Linked DNA regions of Homo sapiens: regions 1 and 2 are each linked to region 3. Evidence: promoter capture Hi-C in 16 types of primary human blood cells and fetal thymus (Javierre and others, 2016). All regions are on one chromosome and are shown on one strand. The core of a region is centred on a gene start or on the middle of the fragment in contact, and the rest is flanking DNA. Distances in the headings are between cores, read along the strand shown.

Region 1 (4,341 bases), core at 1,079-3,578, 120 kb after region 3:
ATTGAAACCAAGAAAGCAGATGAAGTCACTTTGAGAGAATATGCAGAATGGGAAAGGAAGCAAGCCAGTGACTAATTCTAGAATCCAACACTGCAGAATCCATGAGAAGGGGCTGAACACGGTACCTCACACCTGTAATCCCAGCACTTTGGGAGGCAGAGTCGGGCAGATCACCTGAGATCAGAAGTTAGAGACCAACCTGGCCAACATGGTGAAACCTGGTCTCTAATAAAAATACAAAAATCAAAAATTAGCCAGGTGTGGTGGTGACTGCCTGTAGTTCCAGCTACTCAAGGGGCTGAGGCAGGACCGTCACTTGGACCAGGAAGGTGGCGGTTGCAGTGAGCTGAGATCATGCCATTGCACTCCAGACTGGGTGACAGAGTGAGACCCCGTCTCAAGAAAAAAAAAAGAAAAGAAAAAAGTTTTTTTGCCAGCAGCCTCCCCTGGCATAAAAGCTTGGCTAAGGGCCTACTGCTCTCAACTCCCCCTCAGTCGCTGATACACCCCCATTCATTACCCACTGTTATTCCTTAGCTTGGACTTTTCTTCCAATTGTCCACTTCGTAAATGTGGCCAATAGTTCAGATTGGCTTTCTCATCTCTTTTTTTTTTTGAGACACAGTGTCACTTTGTTGTCCATGCTGGAGTATAGTGGTGTAATCTCGACTCACTGCAACCTCTGCCTCCCTGGTTGAAGGGATTCTCCTGCCTCAGCCTCTCGAATAGCTGGAATTACATGCGCACACCACCACGCCTGGCTAAATTTTTTTTGTATTTTAATGGAGACGGGGTTTTACCATGTTGGCCAGGCTGGTCTCCAACTCCTGATCTCAAGTGATCCACCTGCCTCGGCCTCCCAAAGTACTGGGATTACAGGTGTGAGCCACCTCTCCCAGCCCTCTCATCTCTTTTCTGGCCTCCCTAAAGTGTGCCTCACTTGAATGCTGGAAGCTTGAAATCTAAAAGTTACTTTTTCCCAGAGTACCTTGTGTTCTGGGTTCTGCAGGTGACCCAGCCTTCACCAAGCGGATCAATACCCTGGAGATTTGGAGGGCAAATGTGAACACCGGATTGAAGACCATATACTTTTTGCTCTTTCTGCAGGCAAGCTTGGACACGAATATGTTAAGACTTTTCTTTTTTGCTGTGGCTGTAGCAGAGGTCCCAGTGTTGGTCTCCAGCTTTATGGATGTCAAAAGACTGGATGGATGGATGGGTGCCATGTGGCTCATGCCTGTAACCCCAGCACTTTGGGAGGCCAAAGCGGGCGGATCACCTGAGGTCAGGAGTTCGAGACCAGCCTGGCCAACATGGCGAAACCTCGTCTCTACTAAAAATACAAAAATTACCTGAGCATGGTGGTGGGTGCCTGTAATCCTAACTATTCAGGAGGCTGAGGCTGGATAATTGCTTGGACCTGAGAGGCAGAGGTTGCAGTGAGTGGAGATCGCACCACTGCACTTCCTGGGTGACAAAGCAAGACTCTGTCTCTAAAAAAAAAAAAAAAAAAAAAGACAGATGGAAGCATCCATTTTGCTGTTCTATTCATCTCTGTAATATCTCCGCAGTCTAGTACAATGCCTGGCGCATAGTAGAAACTCAATAAATTGATATGTGAAAGAAGTTTGTGCTATGATCAAGCTCAAATAGTTACCAATGACCATAGATTTTTTTCTCATCTATTTCATTAGTGCTATTAGCATATAGAGGAATAAATTGCTGTTATTAATATCATAGAGGTAGGGAATCCCAGGATACTATAATGCTGGGCTGGTGGGAAGGGTCTTAAGTGGTGAGCGTCCTGGGAGTATTAACCAGAGCAAAGCATTCAGGGAGGGCTCTTTGGTTTGGGATGCACGTTAGTCACCATAGATATCTTCACTGTGCACGATGACACAGGTCCTGAAGTGCTCTCAACTCAAGCTCTTTACATGTAGGCTTCTTTTCCTTTTGTTGTTTTTTTAAAAACAGAGTCTCACTCTGTTGCCCAGGCTGGAGTGCAGTGGTGTGATCATAGCTCACTGCAGCCTCAAACTCCTGGGCTCAAGTGATCCTCCCATTTTAGCCTCCCGAGGAGCTAGGTCTTGCAATGCTTTTTCATACAATGTGTGGAATTTACAGATAACACAAGTAGTTATTATTTTTTTTAATTCCTAGGGCCGGATGGTGGTGCCAAGGTTGTCTGGCTACTTATCTTCTGTTTCTTTCCAACTTTTTGCTTTCTCTCTTTCCTCCCGTTTTGTGAACTAGGCAATGTCGTGGGAGAAGGGCAGCAGGAGTAGTAGTGGGCTCCTTCCTTATCTTTTTTTTTTTTTTTTTTTGAGACGGAGTCTCGCTCTGTCGCCCAGGCTGGAGTGCAGTGACGCGATTTCGGCTCACTTCAAACTCCGCCTCCCGGGTTCACGCCATTCTCCTGCCTGAGCCTCCTGAATAGCTGGGACCACAGGCGCCCGCCATCATGACCGGCTAATTTTTTTTGTATTTTTAGTAGAGACGGGGTTTCACCATATTAGCCAGGATGGTCTCGATCTCCTGACCTCGTGATCCGCCCGCCTCAGCCTCCCGCCCAGCCTCCTTCCTTATCCTGACCTTGTGATCCATCCGCCTTGGCCTCCCAAAGTACTGGGATTACAGGCATGAGCCACCGCACCCAGCCTTTTCTTTTTCCTTTCTTTTTCTTTCCTTTTTTTTTTTTTTTTTTTTTTTTTGAGACAGAGTCTCACTCTGTCGCCCAGGCTGGAGTGCAGTGGCACAATCTCAGCTCACTGCAACCTCCGCCCTCCGAGTTCAAGTGATTCTCCTGCCTCAGCCTCCCAAGTAGCTGGGATTACAGGCGCCTGCCACCGTACCCAGCTAATTTTTTGTATTTTTTGGTAGAGATGGGGTTTCACCATCTTGGCCAGGCTAGTCTTGAACTCCTTACCTCGTGATCCACTCGCCTCAGACTCCCAAAGTGCTGGGATTACTGGCGTGAGCCACCGCGCCCGGTCTTTGTTTTCCTTTTTTTTTTTGTTTTTGTTTTTTGAGACAAGGTCTCACTCTGTTACCCAGGCTGGAGTGCAGTGGTGTGAACATGGCTCACTGCAGGCACGACCTCCCAAGCTCAAGTGATTCCCCCACATCAGCCTCCCAAGTAGCTGGGATTACCGGAGTGCACCACCATGTTCTGCTGATTTTTAAAATTTTTCATAGAGTTGGAGTCTCACTACGTTGCCCAGGCTCGTCTTTTTTTCTTTGAGACAGGGTCTCGCTCTGTTGCCCAGGCTGGAGTGCAGTGGTGTGATCATAGCTCACTGCAGCCTCAAACTCCTGGGCTCAAGTGATCCTCCTATTTTAGCCTCACGAGGACCTAGGTCTATAGGCATGCACCACCATGCCCAGACAATTTTTAAAGTTTTAAAATTTTGTGTAGAGACAGGGTCCCACTATGGTGCTGAGGCTGGTCTCGAACTTCTGGCCTTAAGTGATCCTTTTGTCCTAACCTTCCAAAGTGCTGGGAATACAGGCATAAGCCACCATGCCCAGCCTACATGTAAGCTTTTGATGAATTCTGTTTTCTATTTTTATTTATTTTATTTAATAAAATTATTAATATAATTATATTGAAGTGGCTCATGCCTGTAATCTCAACACTTTGTGAGGCCGAAGGAGGTGGATTGCAAGGTCACTAGTTCGAGACCAGCCTGGCCAACATGGTGAACCCGTCTCTACTACAAAAAAATACAAAAAATTAGCCAGGCGTGGTGGCATGAACCTGTAGTCCCAGCTACTCAGGAGGCTGAGGCAGGAGAATCGCTTGAACTCGGGAGGCAGAGGTTGCAATGAGCTGAGATGGCGCCACTGCACTCCGGCCTGGGTGACAGAGTGAGACTTCATATCAAAAAAAAGAAGAAGCAGGGTGCCGTGGCTCATGCTTGTAATCCCAGCACTTTGGGAGGCCAAGGTGGGCAGATCATGAGGTCAGGAGATCAAGACCATCCTGGTTAACATGGTGAAACACCCGTCTCTACCAAAAATACAAAAAATTAGCCGGGCGTGGTGGCGGGCGCCTGTAGTCCCAGCTACTCCGTAGGCTGAGGCAGGAGAATGGCGTGAATCTGGGAGGTGGAGCTTGCAGTGAGCCGAGATCGTGCCACTGCACTCCAGCCTGGGTGACAGAGCGAGACTCCGTCTCAAAAAAAAAAAAAAGAAAGAAAGAAAATAGTGTTCCTTGAAGTTAGTTTGAGAATCCATAGTTGTCTTGCATAATATTGCATGTTGCTTTTTCATCATTATGTTTCTTTCTCATTTATTTATTTATTTATTTATTTTTGGAGACAGGATCTCCCGCTGTCCTCC
Region 2 (4,561 bases), core at 50-2,549, 94 kb after region 3:
GACTGCAGGTGCACACCACCCTGCCTGGCTTATGTTTTTGAATTTTGTTTTTTTGGACATAGGATCTTGCTATGTCACCCAGGCTGGTCCTGGACTCCTGGCCTCAGGCAATCCTCTTGCCTCTGCCTCTCAAAGTGCTATAGGATTACAGGTGTGAACCACCATGCCTGGCCAGGCAAAATAGATTCTTCCTTTCTGGTGCAGAAGATGAAACTAGTGTGATGAAACTAGTGTGTCTGCTCAGTGTGATCCTGCAGGCATCCTCTGCAGCTGTTGTGGAGGTAGATACAGAGTTTCCAGGATGTGTATCCACCTTACCTTAACTTAGGTGGATACAGAGCCTGCAGGATCCTATGCTGCTGCTATGAAGACTGAAAATGCTCTCCAGTTCCTAGCAGGCCAGATGTAAAAGCTGACTTGGAAAGCAAGAGACATCAGTGCTGAGAGCACCTACCTGCCTGAGAACAAGAAGCAGACAGTCCTGGGTATGGCATCACTGTCATGGTTGGCTAACAGGTACCAGATAAGGCATGGCCAGAAGTGGCCAACTAGCTTTTAAATATCAAAGACAGGACAGTTACAAACAGAGGGGAGAGGTGGAGGAGGACATGGTGAGAGGGACAGTAAACACCTGCAACGTGTGCACACACGGGTGGGCCCTTGGGGCAGTCAGCTGAGGTACAGTTGGTGATGAAGATGCTATGTTGAGAAACTGGATACCCAAGGCATTTATAAAAGTTCACAAAGACTGTAGGGACTTAAGCCTACTCATGATACCACCCTGACCTCTTTACAAAAATACTGGAGATACAAAGATTTCTTCAACTGGACTCTGAACCTGTAAGTTTCTTTTAATGAGGGTCAAGCTCCAAGTTTTGTGTTGCTATGTGATTCTATTTCTTGATTTTAATAATGACTGAGAAAAGTATGGATACCTCCATTCCAAAAATCTACTGGGGCTGGGCCATCTGCCAGGATCATATGATACGGGGAAGAAATGAGGGTCTGTATTACATTAAGAGAATCCTGGCCAAGTGCGATGGGTCACGCCTGTAATCCCAGCACTTTGGGAGGCTGAGGTGGGTGGATCACAAGGTCAGGAGTTCAAGACTAGCCTGGCCAAGATGGTGAAACTCCATCTCTACTAAAAATACAAAAATTATCCGGGTGTGGTAGCGAGCACCTGTAATCCCAGCTACTTGGGAGGCTGAGGCAGGGAATTGCTTGAACCCGGGATGCGGGGGTTGCAGTCAGCTGAGACTGCACCACTGCATTCTAGCCTGGGCAGCAGAATGAGACTCCGTCTCAAAAAAAAAAAAAAAAAAAAAAAAAGAGAATCCTCAGAAGTCATGGTTTGTTGAGGTGTGAATAAGGTTGACATAGAGGCCAGAGGTGGCTAGAAAAGGTACATCATAATCTGATGACAGGCCCCTGTTACGGAGTATTTCTGGATGGTTCATGGTTCAGTCTTTCCCACAGTTGACTGGATCTTCTCCTGGTGTACAACAGCTCTGTGTCCACCTGGTGTCAAGTGGTTGGAGAAGGGGGATACCTAGGATTTCCAGATCATGTCATTCCTCAGGAAAAACAAGTGTGTGAGAGAAGAAGTCCTTTGCAGTCCAGGAATTGAACTGCCCTCTTCCTAAGGCTGCTCTGTTTATTATTTCATGTGTGTGTGTGTGTGTGGTGTGGTGGAGGGTCAGGGGTACACTTTGGAAGAAGACATAAAATTCTGTCCTTTGAATATACCTAGATAATGAACATCTATGAATTTTATAGTAATACTGTCACTCTTACTTTGCATTTAGATTTTAGAAGCAGGTATTCATCTGAGAAAAAATGAGGTACCTAAGTTCACAGCTAATAAGATCACTGTAGACATGACTGGGGAAGGGAAAAGAAAAGCACCTAACTATTCTTTCTCAAAACAAAAACTACTAGGCTCGGTGTGGTGGTGGCTCATGCCTGTACTCCCAGCACTTTGGGAGGCCAAGGCGGGTACATCACCTGAGGTCAGGAGTTTGAGACCAGTCTGGCCAATATGGTGAAACCCCATCTCTACTAAAAATACAAAAATTAGCCAGGCTTGGTGGCGCGTCTGTAATCCCAGCTACTTGGGAGGCTGACGAAGGAGGATTGCTTGAACCCAGCTGGTGGAGGATGTAGTGAGCTGAGATTGCACCACTACACTGCAGCCTGGGCAACAGAGCAAGACTGTCTCAAAAAAAAAAAAAAGAAAGAAAGAAAGAAAGTTTAAAATTATGTTTAAAAAACAGAGAAATTAAGCTAAAGTACATGATAGGAAAAACAATGTGGTAAGGAATTAAAAGAAAGCTAAAGGTAAGTAAATAAAAGCTAAGGGAACAGGCTATAAGTTCAACAAACCAAAATTAAGTAGTGAAGAGGTCATCTACACAAGAATGAAGACGGGACACTTGGCAGTATAGAGATCTAAGTCCAAGGGCCATGAGTCCCAAGCCAGGCACATGGCATCCCCTGAACTACACTAAGGAGTCTCCCATTCTGTTATGCTTTTGATGTTGGAAGTAGGCTATCCAGCTTGTCTATGCAGGGATACCTGCAAGGCTTCAGGAGTGTCATTAACTCAGGTGGTTCCAGATCATCCCACCCTTGGGGTCTAGCCAAGGAGCCATGACTCACCTACTCTGTCATACTCCATACATCATCCTGTGAACAGGGCCTCCTTCACCTAGCGGATATGTGTCCCTCACTAAGAAGGTCAGTAAATCGGGAGCCCCATCTACCCCCTTAACACAGGGGCTACATAAGGACTACACATTTGATATGGTTTGGCTCTGTGTCCCCACCCAAATCTCATGTTGAACTGTAATCCCCACTTGTCAGGGGAGGGACCTGGAGGGAGGTGATTGGATCATGGAGGTAGATTTCCCCTATGCTGTTCTTGTGATAGTGAGTTTTCACGAGCTCTGATGGTTTAAAAGTGTAGCATTTCCCCACTCTTTTTTTATTTTTGTGGGATGGAGTCTCACTCTGTTTCCAGGCTGGAGTGCAGTGGCATGATCTCGGCTTATTGCAACCTCTGCCTCCTGAGTTCAAGTGATTCTCCTGCCTCAGCCTCCCGAGTAGCTGGGACTACAGGTGCACGCCACCATGCCCAGCTAATTTTTTTGTATTTTGTTTTTTAATAGAGATGGGGTTTCACCATGTTGGCCAGGATGGTCTCAATCTCTTGACCTCGTGATCTGCCTGCCTCGGCCTCCCAAAGTGCTGGGATTATACAGGCATGAGCCACCATGCCTGGCCTCCCCATTCTCTCTCTCTCCTGCCTCCATATAAGATGTGCCTTGCTTCTGAACTTCGCCTTCTGCCATGATTATAAGTTTCCTGAGGCCTCCCAGGGATGTGAACTGTGGGTCAATTAAACCTCTTTTCTTTATAAATTAACCGGTCTCAGGTAGTTCTTTACAGCAGTGTGAAAATGGACTAATACAACATCTATGGGAGATTTTTTTTTTCCTTTTTTCCTAAAATCCTTTCCTGAAGTATGAAGACTTTCTAATACTTGTCCTAGATATGTGCTTTCAAATCTTCACAGGTCAGGTAGAGTGAAGCCCTAAACCTCAGGAGGAGGATACGAGCTGTCAAGAGGAAGGGAGGATCATGCTGTTGAACACCTCTGAGGATTTCAGAAAGGGGCTCTGGGTTTGAATCCTGACTCTTCCACTTACTAGCTCTGCACTCTTGGGGAAACTACATACTTCTATGAGCTTCAGTTTCCAGCCTGTATTATTAGTGTACTATAACTATGTGACTGTACTCAGTAATTAGTCAGGGAATACATTTGGCACAGATGATACAGTGCTTTTGTTTAAAAGCCAGAATAATCAGAGGTTTAAGGGAAGCAGTTGGAGGGTATGAAGCTACTCAGAGCCTCAGAACTCACCTTTCTGCGTTAATCCATGATGTGACTCCAGGGGGCATCTTGATGAGGACACTCATTAGCCAGGAAGGTGTCAAGCTCTGCTTTCAAAGGAAGGGCAACTTACGTCCATTTTTCTTAAGGAAGGGTCTTAACCACTGAGGCTTACATAAATTTAGAGCTACTTATTTCCCCCATTGAAAAGGAAGTGGTAATATGACAGGAGGAATTTATTTTAGAACTACCTGACATGGTTGTGAGCCACACACGTGACTGCACCTGCAGTCTCTTCTTTCCTTGGAGAACTCCCAAAAGAAGAGGACAGAGATTTTGCCTAGGCTGGGGTGGGCACATGCCTACATGAAACAGGGACAAGTCTAGAGTAACTCTAGAAGGGTCCTCAAGAGGCCCACCTCCCTTTCAGGGCAGAAATTCAGCTGCTGGTCTCAGGGAAAAGCCTGTCTTGTTGTGTGGGGCATCCCCAAACACACCACATTTTAAGCAGAAATAAAAAATATTTGCTGGCAAAGTGGGGGTCAGAGAAGAGATGAGAGCACATCTCTAAAAAAGAAAGGCACAGCACCCAGGTTCTAGTTCTTGACTTTAATGCCCTTGGAGTGTACTGAGGCTCAATACACCAAAGCACTCACAGACAGGTAC
Region 3 (4,308 bases), core at 1,777-4,276:
AATGCCGAGGAGGGCGGATCACGAGGTCAGGAGATTGAGACCATCCTGGCTGACACAGTGAAACCACATCTCTACTAAAAATAGAAAAAATTAGCCAGGCATGGTGGCGGGCATCTGTAGTCCCAGCTATTCAGGAGGCTGAGGCAGGAGAATGGCGTGAACCCAGGAGGGGGAGCTTGCAGTGAGCCGAGATCGCGCCACTGCACTCCAGCCTGGGCGACAGAGCCAGATTCCGTATCAAAAAAAGAAAAAAAAATTTAGCCAGGCAAGCTAAATTAGTAGGTGGCAGGCCTGTGGTCCCAGTTACTTGGGAGGCTGAGACAAGAGGATAGCTTAAGCATGGGTGGTGGAGGCTACAGTGAGCTGTGTTCCTGCCACTGCATTCCAGCCTGGGAGACAGGGAGAGAGAGAGAGCCTTTTTTTTTTTTTTAAATTTTTTTCTTTTTTTTGAGACGAGGTCTCGCTCTGTCGCCCAGGCTGGAGTGCATTGGTACAATCTTGGCTCACCACAACCTCCTAGAATTGCTAGGTTCAAGCAATTCTCCTACCTCAGCCTCCTGAGTAGCTAGCATTACGGCAGGCGCCATCACACCAAGCTAATTTTAGTGTTTTTAGTAGAGATGGGGTTTCACCATGTTGCTCAGGCTGGTCTCAAACTCCTGACCTCGTGATCCGCCCGCCTCGGCCTCCCAAAGTGCTGGGATTACAGGCGTGAGCCACCGCGCCTGGCCAGAGAGACCCATTTTAACCACACAAGGACCCAGCTAAAAAACTTCCCCTGGTTCTGTCACCATCAGAGGAAGCCTGAGCTCCTACATCTCTGTCCTGCACTTTTTCACTTTAGTAACGACCCTCCAGGCTCGGTAGCTGATGCCTGTAATTTCAGCACTTGGGACGCTTGAGGCAGGAAGATTGCTTGAGTGCAGGAGTTTGAGATCAGCCAGGGCAACACAGCAAGACAACATCTTTACAAAATATTTAAAAATCAGCTGGGTGTGGTGGCACGCATCTGCAGTCTTAGCTACTCGGGAGGCTGAGGTGGGAGGATCACTTCAGCACAGGCAGTTGAGACTTCAGTGACTCGTGATCGTGTCACTGTACTCCAGCCTGGGTGACAAAGTGAGACCCTCTCTCTCAATAAATAAATTAATAGGCACCTCCTTGTAGTTACTGGCCTCCTCTCCTTTGATTCCCCCCTCTCCCTCACTCCACCCTGTTAGTCTGAATGTTAGTCATTCTTCAAGACACATGCAGAAAGTATTCCCTGATCCCTTCCAGGCTCCACACCCAACAGCATGGCCTAAATGCCCGGCTCCTTCCTCGGTGCTCCATCTTAGCTCACATTCCTTACCACACTGTTTTGAAAGTATCTTGACTGTCCCTTCTCCTCAACTGGCTAACTTCTAGAGAGCAGAAACATGACTGCTTGGAAGGTCATTAAAAATTCAAATCCTGAACATTTCTTAATCCTGCGGATATGAATCAGTGACTCTTAAAAGCAAAATGTTATTTATCATTAAATATTAACAATATAATCACATTTTCTTGCATCTCTGGCAAGTTTCTTGGTACAACAATTTTAAGGAACAGACTCTTAGTTTTTTTTTTGAGATAGAGTCTAGCTCTGTCGCCCAGGCTGGAGTGCAGTGGCACGATTTCGGCTCACTGCAACCTCCGCCTCCCGGGTTCATGCCATTCTCCTGCCTCAGCCTCCAGAGTAGCTGGGACTACAGGTGCCCGCCACGATGCCCGGCAAATTTTCTTTTTCTTTTTTTTTTTTATTTGTAGTAGAGACGGGGTTTCACCGTGTTAGGGAGGATGGTCTCAAGCTCCTGACGTCATGATCCGCCTGCCTTGGCCTTCCAAATGCTGGGATTACAGACGTGAGCCACCGCACCCGGCCGGAACACACTCTTTAACAGCAGTTAAAGCCGCGCAATGGCTCACGCCTATAATCCCAACACTCTGGGAGGCCGAGGCGGGAGGATCACTTAAGGCCAGGAGTTTCACACCTGCCTGGGCAACACTGTGAGATCCCATGTCGAAAAAAATAATAAATAAAAACAAAGCAGTTCTAGGTTTAGAGGGGGGAAAGCAGCTCTCCAGGCCAAAAACCAACTCCCAAGGTGCTCCGGTAAACTCGTCCTGGGAAAATTTCCTACCTAATCTCAAAGGCAAAACGAGCCCACGGGCGCCCACGACACATTTCCCAACCGCAAGGATTGGTCACCCGCGCTGAGACACCGCCAGCTGCCTATGACCTAGCCTCCAAAGCGGCAGAGTCCCTCCCTCTCTCTCCCTAAACTGCCGTGATGGGCATCCCTCGGCTCTCCTCCCAGACGGTTCGGAAGCAGGGACTTCTGCTCCTAACCCCGGCCCCGCAGCCTCGCCCTCAGCCACGGGGTGGAAGTCAGGACCACAGGCTTCAAATCCCCTCCCAACTCCGGGACACTTCTGCCCCCTAGGGTGACGTGGGATCAAGTCCCCGCGCCCCTGCCGCGGCCGGGGGCTGTGGTCTGGGTCCGAGCGTCCCATACCAGCGCTTTCCGGGGAGGTTGTGGGAGGGGCCCCGTGCGACCACAGACGCTGCTTCGGAGCCAGCGGCCTGGACGGAAGGTGGGAGCCGGGGCGAGGGGAGCCGCCGGAGAGGGAGGCGGCCAGGAAATGCTCCGCGTCAGGCCGTCGGGGCTCGGCTGGCGCTGGAGATCCCGGCAACTAGCGTCTGGGACGGAGAGGCCGCACTCTGAGGATTAAGGGAGCCGAGGGCGGCCTGGAACGGGGAAGGCGGCGCTGACGGAGACGGAATGTGGGACGAAGGACAGCGGGAGGCACCGACGCGCAACTGCCCCAGCCGCGCGGATGGCACGGACCGACCGCCCTGCCACCCCCAGCCCGAGACGCCCCGCCGCCCCGCTCCTGTAGCTGAGAGCCGAGCAGCTCTCAGCCCCAGTCCGTCCGCTCCGTACCTCGCCCGCGTCTCCGCCGGCGTCCAAACCACCGCTCGCCCGCTTCGCCCGGGTAGGTCTGGGCTCCGCGGCCAGCTCCCGCCTCACACCCACCCTCCTGCTCGCCCCGCCCCCGGCACCGCCAGCGAACGCACGTTACGCGCGGCGCGTAAACGTCACTTCCGGGGCCTTTGACTCTGGACGGGAGGAAGTGCGAGTGGATCCAAAGGGTCGAGCGGAGTGGGGTACCGCCCTGACGCCCAAGAGCAAATGGAAGAGGGCGGCCTCCGGGGTAAAGGTGGGGCGCTGGGGAGCCCCGGAGAAACCGGCGTTTCCTAGTCTGTCGCTCAGTCCCTGCTTCCGGCTTCCGACGCGCAACAGCTGGAGGGCGACGCTGGCTCCGCGGCGACTCCTGGGGCTGCGGCCGCGGTGGTAGCGCGAATGGGAGGTGGAGCGGAGCTACTGCGCCGAGGGACGCTTCAGAAACTCTGTTTCAGTCCTTCGCGGATCCTAGGATGTGACAGGTGTTCGAGTTAAAAGGTCTTAAGGCGATCGGTTGATCCAAAAGCAGCTGAATCTTTAGGAGGCCCAGGCAGGAGGATCGCTTGAGTCCAGGAGTTCGAGACCAGCCTGGGCCACAGAGCAAGGTCACCATCTCTACAAAAGAAATTTTACAAATCAGCCGGACATGATGGCGGGCACCTGTGGTCCCAACTACCAGGGAGGCTGAGGTGGGAGGATCGCTTGATAGCCCAGGAAGTTGACGGTGCAGAGATCCCTCCACTGAACTCCAGGCCGGGTGACAGCAGAGCGAGATCCTGTCTCAAAAAAAACATAACCGACATCCAGAAGTGAAATAAATTAGCCAGTGTCACAAAGTATTAATGGTTGAGTCACAAATTGAATCCTGTTTACCTGATTCTTTACGTGATTCCCATGTAAGGAATGTTAAAAACAGTAAATACTAATTCCTCTGCGTCCTGAATGCCATGTATGGCGTAACGTGCAGTCACAGCAAGAAAAAAAAGAAAATACTATGCTGTGGCTGTGAGATAGACCTGGGTTAAAATCCCAGCTTTGCTAATTGTCGCTGTAGTGTTCTTGGACAGGTTGCGTAATTTTTCAGTCTATTTTTTTTTTTTTTTTTTTTTTTTTTGAGACTCTCACTCTGTCGCCCACACTGGAGTTCAGTCGTGCGATCTCGGCTTACTGCAACCTCCGCCTCCTAGGTTCAAGCGATTCTCCCACCTCAGCCACCCAAGTAGCTGGAATTACAGGCACCCGCCACCACGCCCAGCTCATATTTTTTTTTTTGTATTTTTAGTCGAGACAGGGTTTCACCATGTTGGCCAGGCTGGTTTTG

Evidence for each region. Contacts are between HindIII fragments. The CHiCAGO score rates a contact against its expected background, and 5 or more counts as called.
Region 1: a fragment that was not itself captured here is called in contact with the fragment with the promoter of RABGEF1 in region 3 in 3 of 17 cell types (activated CD4 T cells, non-activated CD4 T cells and naive CD4 T cells); the score reaches 6.2 in activated CD4 T cells.
Region 2: a contact is called between a fragment that was not itself captured here and the fragment with the promoter of RABGEF1 in region 3, in 1 of 17 cell types (neutrophils). The highest score is 5.3, in neutrophils.

Annotation. Positions count from the first base shown.
Region 1 is chr7:66,619,952-66,624,292 of GRCh38, reverse strand. No RefSeq gene overlaps it. Among named protein-coding and RNA genes, the nearest start is that of KCTD7, 6.8 kb to the left of the region's middle. The HindIII fragment of the contact is 2,428 bases long and covers 1,115-3,542 here.
Region 2 is chr7:66,642,976-66,647,536 of GRCh38, reverse strand. KCTD7 (potassium channel tetramerization domain containing 7) reads right to left here. Exons shown (of 4, transcript NM_153033.5): 4 at 4,490-4,561. Among named protein-coding and RNA genes, the nearest start is that of KCTD7, 16 kb to the right of the region's middle. The HindIII fragment of the contact is 7,195 bases long and covers 1-4,561 here.
Region 3 is chr7:66,739,451-66,743,758 of GRCh38, reverse strand. RABGEF1 (RAB guanine nucleotide exchange factor 1) reads right to left here and starts at 3,026. Exons shown (of 9, transcript NM_014504.3): 1 at 2,967-3,026. RefSeq lists silencers at 2,803-2,942, 2,963-3,232 and enhancers at 2,683-3,349, 3,363-3,412. The HindIII fragment of the contact is 9,271 bases long and covers 1-4,308 here.